3 separate regions of the Homo sapiens genome follow, and regions 2 and 3 are each linked to region 1. The links are contacts of gene promoters, found by promoter capture Hi-C in blood cells and fetal thymus (Javierre and others, 2016). All regions are on one chromosome and are shown on one strand. Each heading gives the region's core, a stretch centred on a gene start or on the middle of the fragment in contact. The rest is flanking DNA. Distances are from core to core; before and after follow the strand shown. Region 1 holds the start of PRELID3B (PRELI domain containing 3B). Region 2 holds the start of GNAS (GNAS complex locus). Region 3 overlaps LOC101927932 (a long non-coding RNA gene).

Evidence for each region. The method cuts DNA at HindIII sites, captures the fragments that hold promoters and counts their contacts. A CHiCAGO score of 5 or more calls a contact.
Region 2: a contact is called between the fragment with the promoter of GNAS here and the fragment with the promoter of PRELID3B in region 1, in 10 of 17 cell types (naive B cells, erythroblasts, total B cells and 7 more). The highest score is 8.0, in naive B cells.
Region 3: a fragment that was not itself captured here is called in contact with the fragment with the promoter of PRELID3B in region 1 in 4 of 17 cell types (total B cells, naive B cells, naive CD8 T cells and 1 more); the score reaches 7.1 in total B cells.

The regions. Positions count from the first base shown.
Region 1 is chr20:59,040,666-59,044,611 of GRCh38, forward strand. PRELID3B (PRELI domain containing 3B) reads right to left here and starts at 2,121. Exons shown (of 6, transcript NM_016045.3): 1 at 2,034-2,121. The coding sequence starts at 2,065. SLMO2-ATP5E (SLMO2-ATP5E readthrough) reads right to left here and starts at 2,181. Exons shown (of 6, transcript NR_037930.1): 1 at 2,034-2,181. RefSeq lists a silencer at 2,039-2,438. The HindIII fragment of the contact is 2,130 bases long and covers 660-2,789 here.
Region 2 is chr20:58,890,057-58,892,670 of GRCh38, forward strand. It overlaps GNAS (GNAS complex locus), which reads left to right and starts at 1,365. Exons shown (of 13, transcript NM_000516.7): 1 at 1,365-1,809. The coding sequence starts at 1,671. RefSeq lists silencers at 623-772, 833-1,332, 1,343-1,562, 2,433-2,522. The HindIII fragment of the contact is 29,581 bases long and covers 1-2,614 here.
Region 3 is chr20:58,859,471-58,864,046 of GRCh38, forward strand. It overlaps LOC101927932 (a long non-coding RNA gene), which reads right to left. Exons shown (of 5, transcript NR_126334.1): 5 at 4,286-4,576. It also overlaps a transcript of GNAS not described here. Among named protein-coding and RNA genes, the nearest start is that of GNAS, 30 kb to the right of the region's middle. The HindIII fragment of the contact is 4,352 bases long and covers 911-4,576 here.

The DNA of each region.
Region 1 (3,946 bases), core at 871-3,370:
TCAGATTTGTCAGGGGAGATGATGACTTCAATTTCAGACAGGCTGAGTTTTAAGGGCCTGTGGGACACGAGGGTAGCAATGCCTAACAGGCACCTGAAAATGAAAAGCGGAGCTCAAGAGAGGCTGGAGCTCAAGGTACAGATCTGGGTGCCATAAATGTATACCTATCATTTGGGACTTTGACCAAACAGCTCAGATTATGTGGGGAGAAAGCACGGATCAGGGCTGCTTCTCCCAGGACAAAAAAAAAGTCTGTGACGAAAAGAGAAACAAAAAAGAAATTAAGATCACAGGTAAAATCCAATATAGGAAGGCCAACACAGAATCTCACTGAACATTTACACTGAATGGGAAAAGACAGGGAAGCGCTGAAGACAAAGGCAGAAAGAGTGTAGAGGGAAGGAGGGGATGAGCCAGGAAGAAGAGTTAGGGAAGATATGGGAGAAGACAGTTCTAGGGAGACTGAGTGCCGAGAACCTCTGAAGCATGCAAACCCAGAAGAGGACTGAAGCATGCAAACCTGGAAGAGGACTGAAATTAAACATCCTCGGAGCTGAAATGGACTAGTGATGAATGCGACCAGGTTAATGAACATCTAAATGACCACAAATTTCGGGTCTTTTTCCTCCCAAAAAGACTAAACAGTAGGGGGAAAAGAAAGCTTCCTTCTGATTCCAGTATTCTATACTTTGCAGGATACAGCAGGCCCTAGGATGTGTCCCACTGAGTACAAATGCGGACAACGTTTTAAAAGTTGCCTTCAGAGGCCGGGCACAGTGGCCCACACCTGTAATCCCGGCACTTTGGGAGGCCAAGGCGGGCGAATCACCTGAGGTCAGGTGCGACCTGACCAGGGCGAATCACTTTGAGACCAACCTGACCAACATGGTGAAACTCCGTCTCTACTAAAAATACAAAAATTAGCCGGGCGCGGTGGTGGGCGCCTGTAATCCCAGCTACTTGGGAGGCCAAGGCAGGAGAATCGTTTGAACACGGGAGACGGAGGTTGCAGTGAGCCAAGAACACGCCACTACTCTCCAGCCTGGGCAACAGAGCGAGACTCTGCCTCAAAAAAGAAATTTAAAAAAAATTTGCCTTCAGAGACAGTTTTAAAAACATAAATGGCTTTGTAGCATATTTATTTACAAGGCTATACTAATTAAAACAGTGTGGCAACGACATTAAGATCAGCGGAACAGAGCAGGTAACTCGGGAAAAAAAAGGATTTCGCTGCTTAAATTTGTGGCTCTTTTGTAAATGGAATCAGGGACCTAGAAGAGAATATAATTCTCCACATCCAACTGGTTCAAGGCTTAGTTTCGTTAGTAAACAGTTCACATTATCCAAAAAGATGTTCCTGAACGTGGCCTCAAAGAGCTAACACGGGTAGGCCCTGACGATCGTCCTTTTCCATCTCTCAGATGAAAATGGGTAACCCAGGGTCACACGCTTGTTACAGCCAGAGCTAGACCTTGAATTCCAAATCCAAGGCTCTGCTGCGTAGATGAACGAGTTGTGAAAAGGCTTCACATCCTGGTGGTCAGAGTTCACCCGAAATTCACATTCGAAGGTAGAAACTCCACCCAAACGGCGGCCAGGGAAAGTACACTCTGGAGAAAACCAACACCTCCCTCTTGGGATCCTCGGGTCCACGTCCCAAAGTGGTTTCACAGGGCGGGATGGGGCAACCCTGAGTGCTGTCAAGGGCTTCGTGCTCCGCGACGCCCCCAGGACCTCAGGAGGCCGCCGGCCCGAGGCTACCTCATGGTGGGGGACAGCCCGGAAGTGACCCCGTAGCCCTGCCGGTCGCAAGGCCGCCTGGGTCTGGAGGTCGGAGCCGTCCCCTCGGCTAGGGCGCCTCGGGGTCGTGACCTTGGTCTGCCCTCCGTGTCGCCGGGGCCCGCAGGCTTCAGAGTTCGCTCCCCTCGCTAGGCCCGACGCCTAGAAGCCTCCTGCGGGCCGCCTCTGCCTCGCCTCTACTCCAGGGCCGGCGTGCCTGCCCTCCACGGAGCCGACCCGCGCCCCAAACTTACTCAAAGACGTGCTCCGAAGTCCAGATCTTCATGGTGCCGGCACCCTGAGAGATGTCCGGGTAGCGCCAGGGGACAACGAGGCACAGAGGCTACACCTGCCCCTGCCCCGCCCCCAGCACCCCAGCCGGCGGCGCAGTGCGCAGGCGCTGTCGGGCCCGACGCGAGGGACGTCCAGACGCGCGGCCCCACGCCCTATCCCGGCCCGGGTTTTGCCCCAGCCTTGCGCGCGGCGCAAGGAAACCCCGCCTCTTAGCGCCGGGCGCATCGCGCCGGCGCAGTGCCGCCGACGGCAGCTGGAGGGGCCGGCGCGGGCGCTGTGCTGCGCAGGCGCGGCGGGCTTGTAGCGAGCCTTGACCTCTGGGCAGAGTTGGGTCAGGTCCAGGAGGTGCCTGCGCGCCCGCTTGGCCCTCCTTGTCCTTCTGGCCCAGCACATCCTCGCCTGGCATTTCGAGGCGTGTGGACGCATGCGGTCAGCCTGCTGACATAGATGTTCGTTGTGGTGGTCACTTGTGCAAAATTTCCTGGTGCCCTATAGAGAGTTCCAGCCACCTCCTGGGTCAGCCCGGGCTGTTTTCCCAAATCCACCAGCCACCCAGCCGATCAGCTGGGCCAGTCCCACCTGCCCGCCAGGAGCTTGCAGCCCTCGGAGGGGATAAATAAGGCGTGACGCGGAGAAGCTAACATCAGACCTGCCCATGAATAATACCCCTACGAGGGATGCGGTCCGGAAGCACGGTGCCAGGGGTCGGGTAGAAAAGCTTCCTGGCCGGGCACACCTTGCCCTAGGTGCATAGGATGGATCTGAGCTGAGATGTCTCTCCCAGAGAGACTTCCCTCGTCACCGTTTCTCACCTTGTTGCTCTGCTCCGTCACAATATCCTGTTGCATTTTTTATAGCACTTACCCCTCTGACATCATCTTGTTAATTTATTTGTGAAAATTCACAATCGAACTGAGTTCTTGAAGGCAAGAATCTTGCCGGTCTTGCTCAAAAATCATCCTCAGTGTCTCCCATATAGTCAAGGCTCAATGACTACTTATTGAAAAATGAAAAAAATCAATAGCTATTTGTGGGATGAATGAATTAATGGAGTCATCTAGTTTATTTGTTGTAACTTCCGCTAGACTGTAAGCCCCTGAGGGCGAGGCTCTTGCCAGACTTGTTCAGTGATTTCCCCCTTCCTAAATGACAATTATTTGTTGCATCAATGGATGAAAGAATGACTAAGAATTGCTGGGGCAGGAGGAGGTGGCATGTGGTTTCATTCAGAGATGAGCCTTGTCCAGGGAACAGACTGCCTGGCTTAGCTTTCAGAATATGGCTTCCCACCCTGCTCTCCTGCACTCTCCACAGCCGTCTACCTCCTAACAGAACAATTTGCCATTTTCAATGAAGGTTATGGAGGAAAATCTTTACATCTAGTTACTTAGAAGCTTGTTAGAAGGACCACCTCATTCTTGTTCTTAGCTTGTTTGATTGTTAAAGACAAAAAGCCAGGTTAATTTAGGAGGGAGGATAATTTTTCAAAATAACATAAGTCCTTTATACAGGAAAACAAAAATTACATTAGACAGGAAGGAAATAATATGGTTGGGTAGTTGCTAAGTGCAATTTGTGGTACCTGAGATTTTCTTTTTTTAAACCTACAGTACTTAAGAGTGATTTCTTGGGGAGGTAATGCTTTAAGGGCTACTGAGAGTACCTCAGCCTTGACTAAGATGCAGTTAACGTCGCTGGGTGTTAAAAACACTGGTTCAAGAACCATCAGCACAGAACAGCCTGTCCCTGCTATTCCTGGAGTTCCATGAGGCTGTTCACCATTCAGCATTCCTGTTCTGTTTATTTTAGAGAACATTATTCTGCTCTCAAGTTCAAAATTTCTGTGTTTTAGTCATGAAAATTAAATGACACC
Region 2 (2,614 bases), core at 115-2,614, 150 kb before region 1:
CAAGAACCCGGCGCGGGAGGCGCTCCCCGAAAAGTTCCTAACAGACAAGGAGCGCAAGAAGCTCGAGAAGAAGCTGCTGGAGCAGAGGCGAAAGGAGGAGAAGAAGAAGGAGAAGGAGAGGAAGAAGATGGAGAAGATGCTGAAGAAGAAGAAGAAGAAGGTGCCAGAAGCCCAGGAGGAGGCCCGATGCCCCGAGGCCGCCGCCGCCGCGGCCGCCGCCGACGACGACGAGGGCGCCGAGGAGGGCGCCGTCGGGGGCGCCGAGGAGGGCGCCGCCGCCGGGGGCACGAGTAGGGCCTGGGCTGACTGGGACACGGACTCGAGCGACGAGGACGACGCCTACTACGCGGCGCCGCGCGTTGGGGGCATCGTGTGGCGGCCCGGGCCGCTCAAGGCTGGCGCGCTGAGCGCCCACCTGCCCCTCGTGGTGTTCCTGGTCTTCTCGGTGCGCAGCCCCTCGTGGGTGCTCAACTTCCTGCTGCAGAAGCGCACGGAGCAGGGCCGCGGCTGCGGCTTCGTGTTCGGGGCGACCTGCTGCTTCCGAGTGTTCCTGGGCTGCGCCTTCTTCTCCTACTTGGGCGGCCGCGCCAAGCGCAGAGGCCGCGGGCGCTCCGGGGCCAGAGGCGCCTTCGGCTCGGGCCATGGCGCCCGGCGCCGGGGGCGCGAGGAGCGGCTCATCTAGTCAGACCCCCCACCCCGCCACCGCCACCAGACACCACCATCGCTGTGTAGTGTGGGTTTTTATTCGTGTTCGTGTGTGTGTGTGGACACATTTTCCTTTTCGGTTGCTCTGTCCTTTGGTTCGTGCTCGCCTCGCTTTTTCCACACTCCTGCTCTCTGGCTCTCTGTGTCTCTCGCTCTTTCGAAAATTTTCCTAAGTCCGGGCGCGCGCTCCCTCCCCTTCCGCCCACCCCAGCCCCTCGGCGGCGCCCGCGGGAGGGGGAGGAGGCCTCGGGGGCGCCGGGCGACGCGGTCCGGGGGGTGGAGCGTTGGCGTCGTGCGAGGGGTCGTCACTGGCGCGGAGACGCCCCCTCTCCCCCCTCGGCTCAGCCGGGCTGCTGCCCGAGCCCGGGGGGTGGGGGGCGTCTCCCCGGCCCGTCCCGTCCCCGGCCGGGCGCGGGCGGAGGGACCCCCTCCCCGGGCTCCCGGGGGGCCGCCTCCCTCCGCCGGCTCCCGCCCTCCCAGCCGCCGCCGCCGCCGCGGCCGCTCCTCGGCCCTCCTCCTCCTCCTCCTCCTTCCACCCCCCTCGCCGCCGCCGCCTCCTCCTCCCCCCGCCTCCCCCCGCCCGCCGCGGCGCTTTTGGCTCGGGGCGGCGGCGGGGGCCCGGCCGAGGCAATAAGAGCGGCGGCGGCGGCAGCGGCGGCAGCAGCTCCCGCAGCTCCTGCTCTGGTCCGCCTCGGCCCGGCGGCGGCCATCAGCCCCCTCGGCCTCGGCTCGAGGGGCGGGGAGCTGCGCGCGCCCCTCGGTCCGACCGACACCCTCCCCTTCCCGCCCGTCCGCGCGCCCCGCGGCCCGCGGCCCGCAGTCCGCCCCGCGCGCTCCTTGCCGAGGAGCCGAGCCCGCGCCCGGCCCGCCCGCCCGGCGCTGCCCCGGCCCTCCCGGCCCGCGTGAGGCCGCCCGCGCCCGCCGCCGCCGCAGCCCGGCCGCGCCCCGCCGCCGCCGCCGCCGCCATGGGCTGCCTCGGGAACAGTAAGACCGAGGACCAGCGCAACGAGGAGAAGGCGCAGCGTGAGGCCAACAAAAAGATCGAGAAGCAGCTGCAGAAGGACAAGCAGGTCTACCGGGCCACGCACCGCCTGCTGCTGCTGGGTAAGGGCGGGCGGGGGGCGCCGGCCCCGGCCCGGGGGCCCTCGAAGGGCGCCCCGCAGGCCGCGCGCGCCGAGCCCGCCCCCCGCCCCGGGCGCGCGCTCCCGAGCCCCCCGCCCGTTCGCGGGCTCTGTCTGTGGGGGGCGAGGCCGGAAGGGGGACCCAGGGGCGCGGATTCGGCCGGGCGGGGGCTCAAAAACGGGGCGGGGGGCCGTGGCGACGCGGGCGCGGGTCCCCCTCCCCCGGCCTGCCCGCTCAGTGTCTCTCTCTTGCTCTCGCTCTCGCTCTCCCCCTCTTTCTCTCTTTCTCTCTTTTTCCGCGAGGCCTACACGACGCCAGGGGTTTGGGTGCGTGTTGGGGAGGGGGAGGGGGAGCCCATGGGGCTCCGGAGACTGCGACAAAAAGAGGGTTTCGGGGACAGGAAACCGGGTGGCGGGTAGAGGGAGGGGGACCCGCCTCCGTGGGGTGTGAGATTTGTTGGGAGAGGGAAAGAGGGGAAGAAAGGGGCGAGGAGAGGAGGGGGTGACGCTGGGGGGCGCCGTGGTGGCGGAGGGGGCCTCGCCAAAGGGAGGCTTTGGCGGGGAGAAGTGGCCGAGGAGAGTGGGGGGGCTGGTGACATCAGCCCCTCGGAAAGGATCGGAGCGGTAAAGGTGGTGCAGTGGGGGGGAGGGGGCGCAAGGGAGTCGTGGCGCCGGAGTCGGGAGGGGGGCGGCGAGGGGAGGAGGGAGGGCGGTTGCCGCTGGGCGCGACTTGGTGCGTTTCGGGCAGGACCGACTGACTGTGTGTGCGCGGAGCAGACGTGTCCCGG
Region 3 (4,576 bases), core at 1,837-4,336, 180 kb before region 1:
ACAGGCATGAGCCACTGTGCCTGGCCACATTTTACATTTTTTAAAGCCTTTCATCTAGTCATATTTGTCTCTTGAAACAGTCCTGGGCAATAAAAACGTGATAGGGCCCCATTTCATAGGCAAATAAACCAAAAGCTCAGAGATTAAATATCAGACACTTTTTTTTTTTTTTTTGAGAAGGAGTCTCGCTCTATCGCCCAGGCTGGAGTGCGATGGTGTGATTTTGGCTCACTACAACCTCTGCCTCCTGGGTTCAAGCGATTCTCCTGCCTCAGCCTCCTGAGTAGCTAGGATTACAGGTGCATGCACCATGCCCGGCTAATTTTTGTATTGTTAGTAGAGATGGGGTTTCACCATGTTGGTCAGGCTGGTCTCAAACTCCTGACCTCGTGATCCGCCCGCCTCAGCCTCCCAAAGTTCTGGGATTACAGGCATGAGCCATCGCGCCCGGCCATAAGGCACTTTTACTCAAAGACTGCAAGGTAGGTAAAGGATCACAAATTTCAAATTCAGATAATGCTTACCAGAAATGTGATGATAAGCTATAAAGCATTATTTAAATGTAAAGCATGATTATTCTAAGTATACTATGTGCTCTTAAAATCCCTTGCCAAATGACACGTGTCGAGTAGTCTGCTACTTTCTGAATTATAGCAAAACGCACAGATCCCTGGTTATAAATGTCCATTGAGTATACATGAAACATGAGCTCCCCCATTTCTGAGATGGCTGTCATTGCTTTGGTAATATTTCATTTACACATTTGCTTTAACTCATCTGCCAGCACTGCAACGTTGCAGTCTTAGTTTGTTGGGCTACTGTTTTCCTTTTTTTTTTTTTAAATGCAGGTTTTTTTAAAAGTTTTTTGGTTTTTTTGTTTTGTTTTGTTTTGTTTTTTTGCAGGGTCTAAAGCTTTTCTTCTTGTTTAGGTTTCCACTAAATAATAATTAATCATTATAATAATAAAATGCAGTTACTTTTCTGCATAGCTCTATTATAAGTATAGCGTTAGAATGTTTAGAATCCTGGTCTGGATCTCATGATCTTATCAAAATAACTCTGCTCCATAGTCTTTGTAGTGATTTTTTTTTAAAAGTATGCCTTACTTCTAGTCCAGGCTAATTTCCATTTAGCAAGAGTCAGTGCGTGGTCTTAGAAATCACCTTTGACTTTTATGCAGGAAGGTTAGTTGTTGTTGTTGTTGTTTTTAAGATGGAGTCTCGCTCTGTCACCTAGGCTGGAGTGCAGTGGTACTATCTCGGCTCACTGCAACTTCTGCCTCCCAGTTCAAGGGATTCTCCTGCCTCAGCCTCTCGAATAGCTGGGATTACAGACATGCACCACCACACCTGGATAATTTTTTGTATTTTTAGTAGAGATGGGGTTTCACCATGTTGGCCAGGATGGTCTGGAAATCCTGACCTCAGGTGATCTGCCCACCTTGGCCTCCCAAAGTGCTGGGATTACAGGCATGAGCCACCGTGCCCAGCCAGGAAGGTTAGTATTAAGCAAAACATAAATTTATTTTTAGAGAAGGTAACCTAGATTTGAAATTCCCAAAGGCAGCCATGCTCCTTCTTCTTTTTAGAGTTAGTTTTTCCTCCAAATAAAACTTACCCCCAACCCCAGCAAAATTGTGGCTCTTCAAATGCCTCTAAATAACTCTCAGGAGACACATCAGTAGTGAACAACAATTCGTTTCTACACTTCTTGGTTTCTTTTAGCTGTAGTAGCAAATGTGAGGTTCCTCTCAAACCCACTCACGCCATTTGCCCATTTAAAAATCAAATTTCTCAGGAGGAGTAGCAATTTTCAAGAGAGAAGGGACAGGGCCAATTGATGTCACAAGGTCCTCACCATCAATTAAGACAAGTCAACGGAGGGAACTAAAAGCACTGGGCAGCCTAATTGACCATCTCTGACCCCTTGGAATAGGGACTAGGAGACTCTGGCCCTAACACGCACCTTCACAGATTTCATTAAATTAGACTGAATGGAGCTTTTGTTCCCATCAGATTCCTGTTCTGGCCTGTGGTCACCCTAAGCATAAGATCATGTTCTCTTTAGGAAGGAAGAGGAGAATGGACCTGAGCCTCTCTTTGGGAGTTCTGCTGAAAAGTCTGCAAGTCCTAAGTGGCCTTTATGCAATTTAGAGACTGGAAGGAAGGCACGAATATAAATTGGGGGAAAGAAGCCCCTGAACAAAGGAGAGGAGAGGTATTTCAAAAAGAGGATATATTCTTTTTTTTATTGAGACGGAGTTTTGCTCTTGTTGCGCAGGCTGGAGTGCAGTGGTGCAATCTTGTCTCACTGCAACCTCCGCCTCCCGGGTTCAAGCGATTCTCCTGCCTCAGCCTCCCGAGTAGCTGGGATTACAGGCATGCACTACCACGCCCCACTAATTTTGTATTTTTTGTAGAGACGGGGTTTCACCATGTTGGTCAGGCGGGTCTCGAACTCCTGACCTCAGATGATCTGCCCGCCTCAGCCACCCAAAGTGCTGGGATTACAGGTGTGAGCCATGGCACCTGGCCTTTTTTTCTTAATTCCCCCAAAAAGAGGGCCAGCTACTAGAAGCAGTTACAATTTGAGAAATCTGGAGTCTTTTTTAAAGGGTAACATGTTCAACCCAGTGCTTGGCACATATAAGTACCCCAAAACATGTTTTGGGTTTTTTGGGTTCTTTTTGTTGTTTTTTGTTTTTTGAGACAGGGTCTCACTCTGTCGCCCAAGCTGGAGTACAGTGGCATGATCTCGGCTCACTGCAACCTCTGCCTCCCGGGTTCAAGTGATTCTCCTGTCTCAGCCTCCCCAGTAGCTGGGATTACAGGTGCCTGCCAGCATGCCCAGCTAACTTTTATATTTTTTAGTAGAGATGGGATTTCACCATGTTGGCCAGGCTGGTCTTGAACTCCTGACCTCAGGTGATCTGCCCACCTTGGCCTCCCAAAGTGCTGAGATTACAGGTGTGAGCCACCATACCAAGCCTCGACTTTTAATTTTAGAAATTTATTTTCCTCCTAGATTTTTTTTTTTCTCCCTGCTCCAAGTGAGGTTTTGGGTTTGGTTAGTTTTCTGTTGTTGCTGGGTTTTTTTTTTGTTTGTGTCTTTGTTTTTCTGTTTTTTGCATTTCTCATTAGACTATTAACATGTAAGTTCTAAAAGTGCCAGCCATCTCATTCTGTCTTTCTGTCTCCACCTTTCAGAGTACATTCTTTGTTTACATTTTGTAAATAAAGGTCAACTCAAGCAGTAGACGAATGCCACCTTGCCACATTTATAATTGTGTGAAGTCACTCTCAGGTGAATGATGTGCCAGAGAGAGATGAGGAGATAACTTACTTTTTGACTTGTCCTGTAAAAGTGTCACCTGTCACCCCTGCCTATCCAGCTCCCCCTTCTGTTTTGATTAGCTCCTAACTATAAATCAACTCAATACCGAGGCTGAGCTCAAGGACCTGAGCTTGGATTGTTCTATGGTTATTACACATGAAAAAAAAAAAAAAAAGAAAGAAAGAAAATGTGTTTAGTTTCCTTTCCAACAGCCAGATGGTGAACCAGGCCAGCTCATGGGAATTGAAGATGAAGAGACCTCCAAGAAAGAGGTAGGGAACAACACAACAAAACAATGTTTGACTTTTCATTATGTTGATCGTCACATGCTCTTTGAGCACACACGAGTCACACACCTTTCAAGTTAGAATCAGTGGAGCGCTTTTCTACATGCAACAACTGGGAGCTATGCTATGGGAAGAATGTTAGGCAACTGATCTGTGACAGGGCAATGGAAATTAAGGGAGTGTGCCTCTGTTGTACTTCCTTAGAGTAAAATCCCAAATTGCATTGCAGAGTAATTTGTTAAACCTCAGGAGTATTTAAATTCAGGAGTATTTTGACTTGTGGAGTTCTGCCCACAGAACTGCACATTGGATCTTACTAAATGTTTTTTAATGATTCAATTTGGGGCGAGGAGAGAGGTATAAAGGTAGTATAAATTGTTATCCAATCTCAAATTTATTATGAGTCAGTCAATGTTTCCGACATTGTCACACACACACTGTGTGTGGGACAGAGTAAGTACTTTTAACTTCCTTTAATGAGTTGATAATGGGAAGGAAAAAAATCTCTGTACTACTTTCTAAAGAGTGTCACAGTTGAGCTTTCACAAGCTCAGTGTCACCACTGAGTGAGCATCGATTCTTACAAGGAAATTAAGACTTGGGCTGCAAGAGCCTCGCCTCTCTCTTCTGATTTATCTGGCTCTTGCCTCTCCCCCTCCATCAAAAGACCACACTATCTCTCTCCTCTTTTCCATTTGAACGATTTTGCCATTCATCAAACTGATTGCTAATGTGCAAATTACATGATGGTATTTTTACAGGGAACCTGCATTCAGGTAAGTTTGAAGCTGTGGGATATTTGAGGGGGAAAAAATGAATAATGCTTATCATGATCCACAGAAACTAAAGTCAGGCATTGTAGGACAGTCCAGAACCCAAGAAGGGCCATGGACAGGACCCTTCCAAAGGAAAGAGAATCTCGTGTCCCGTGTGTTAGCGAGTATCCATTCCAGCTC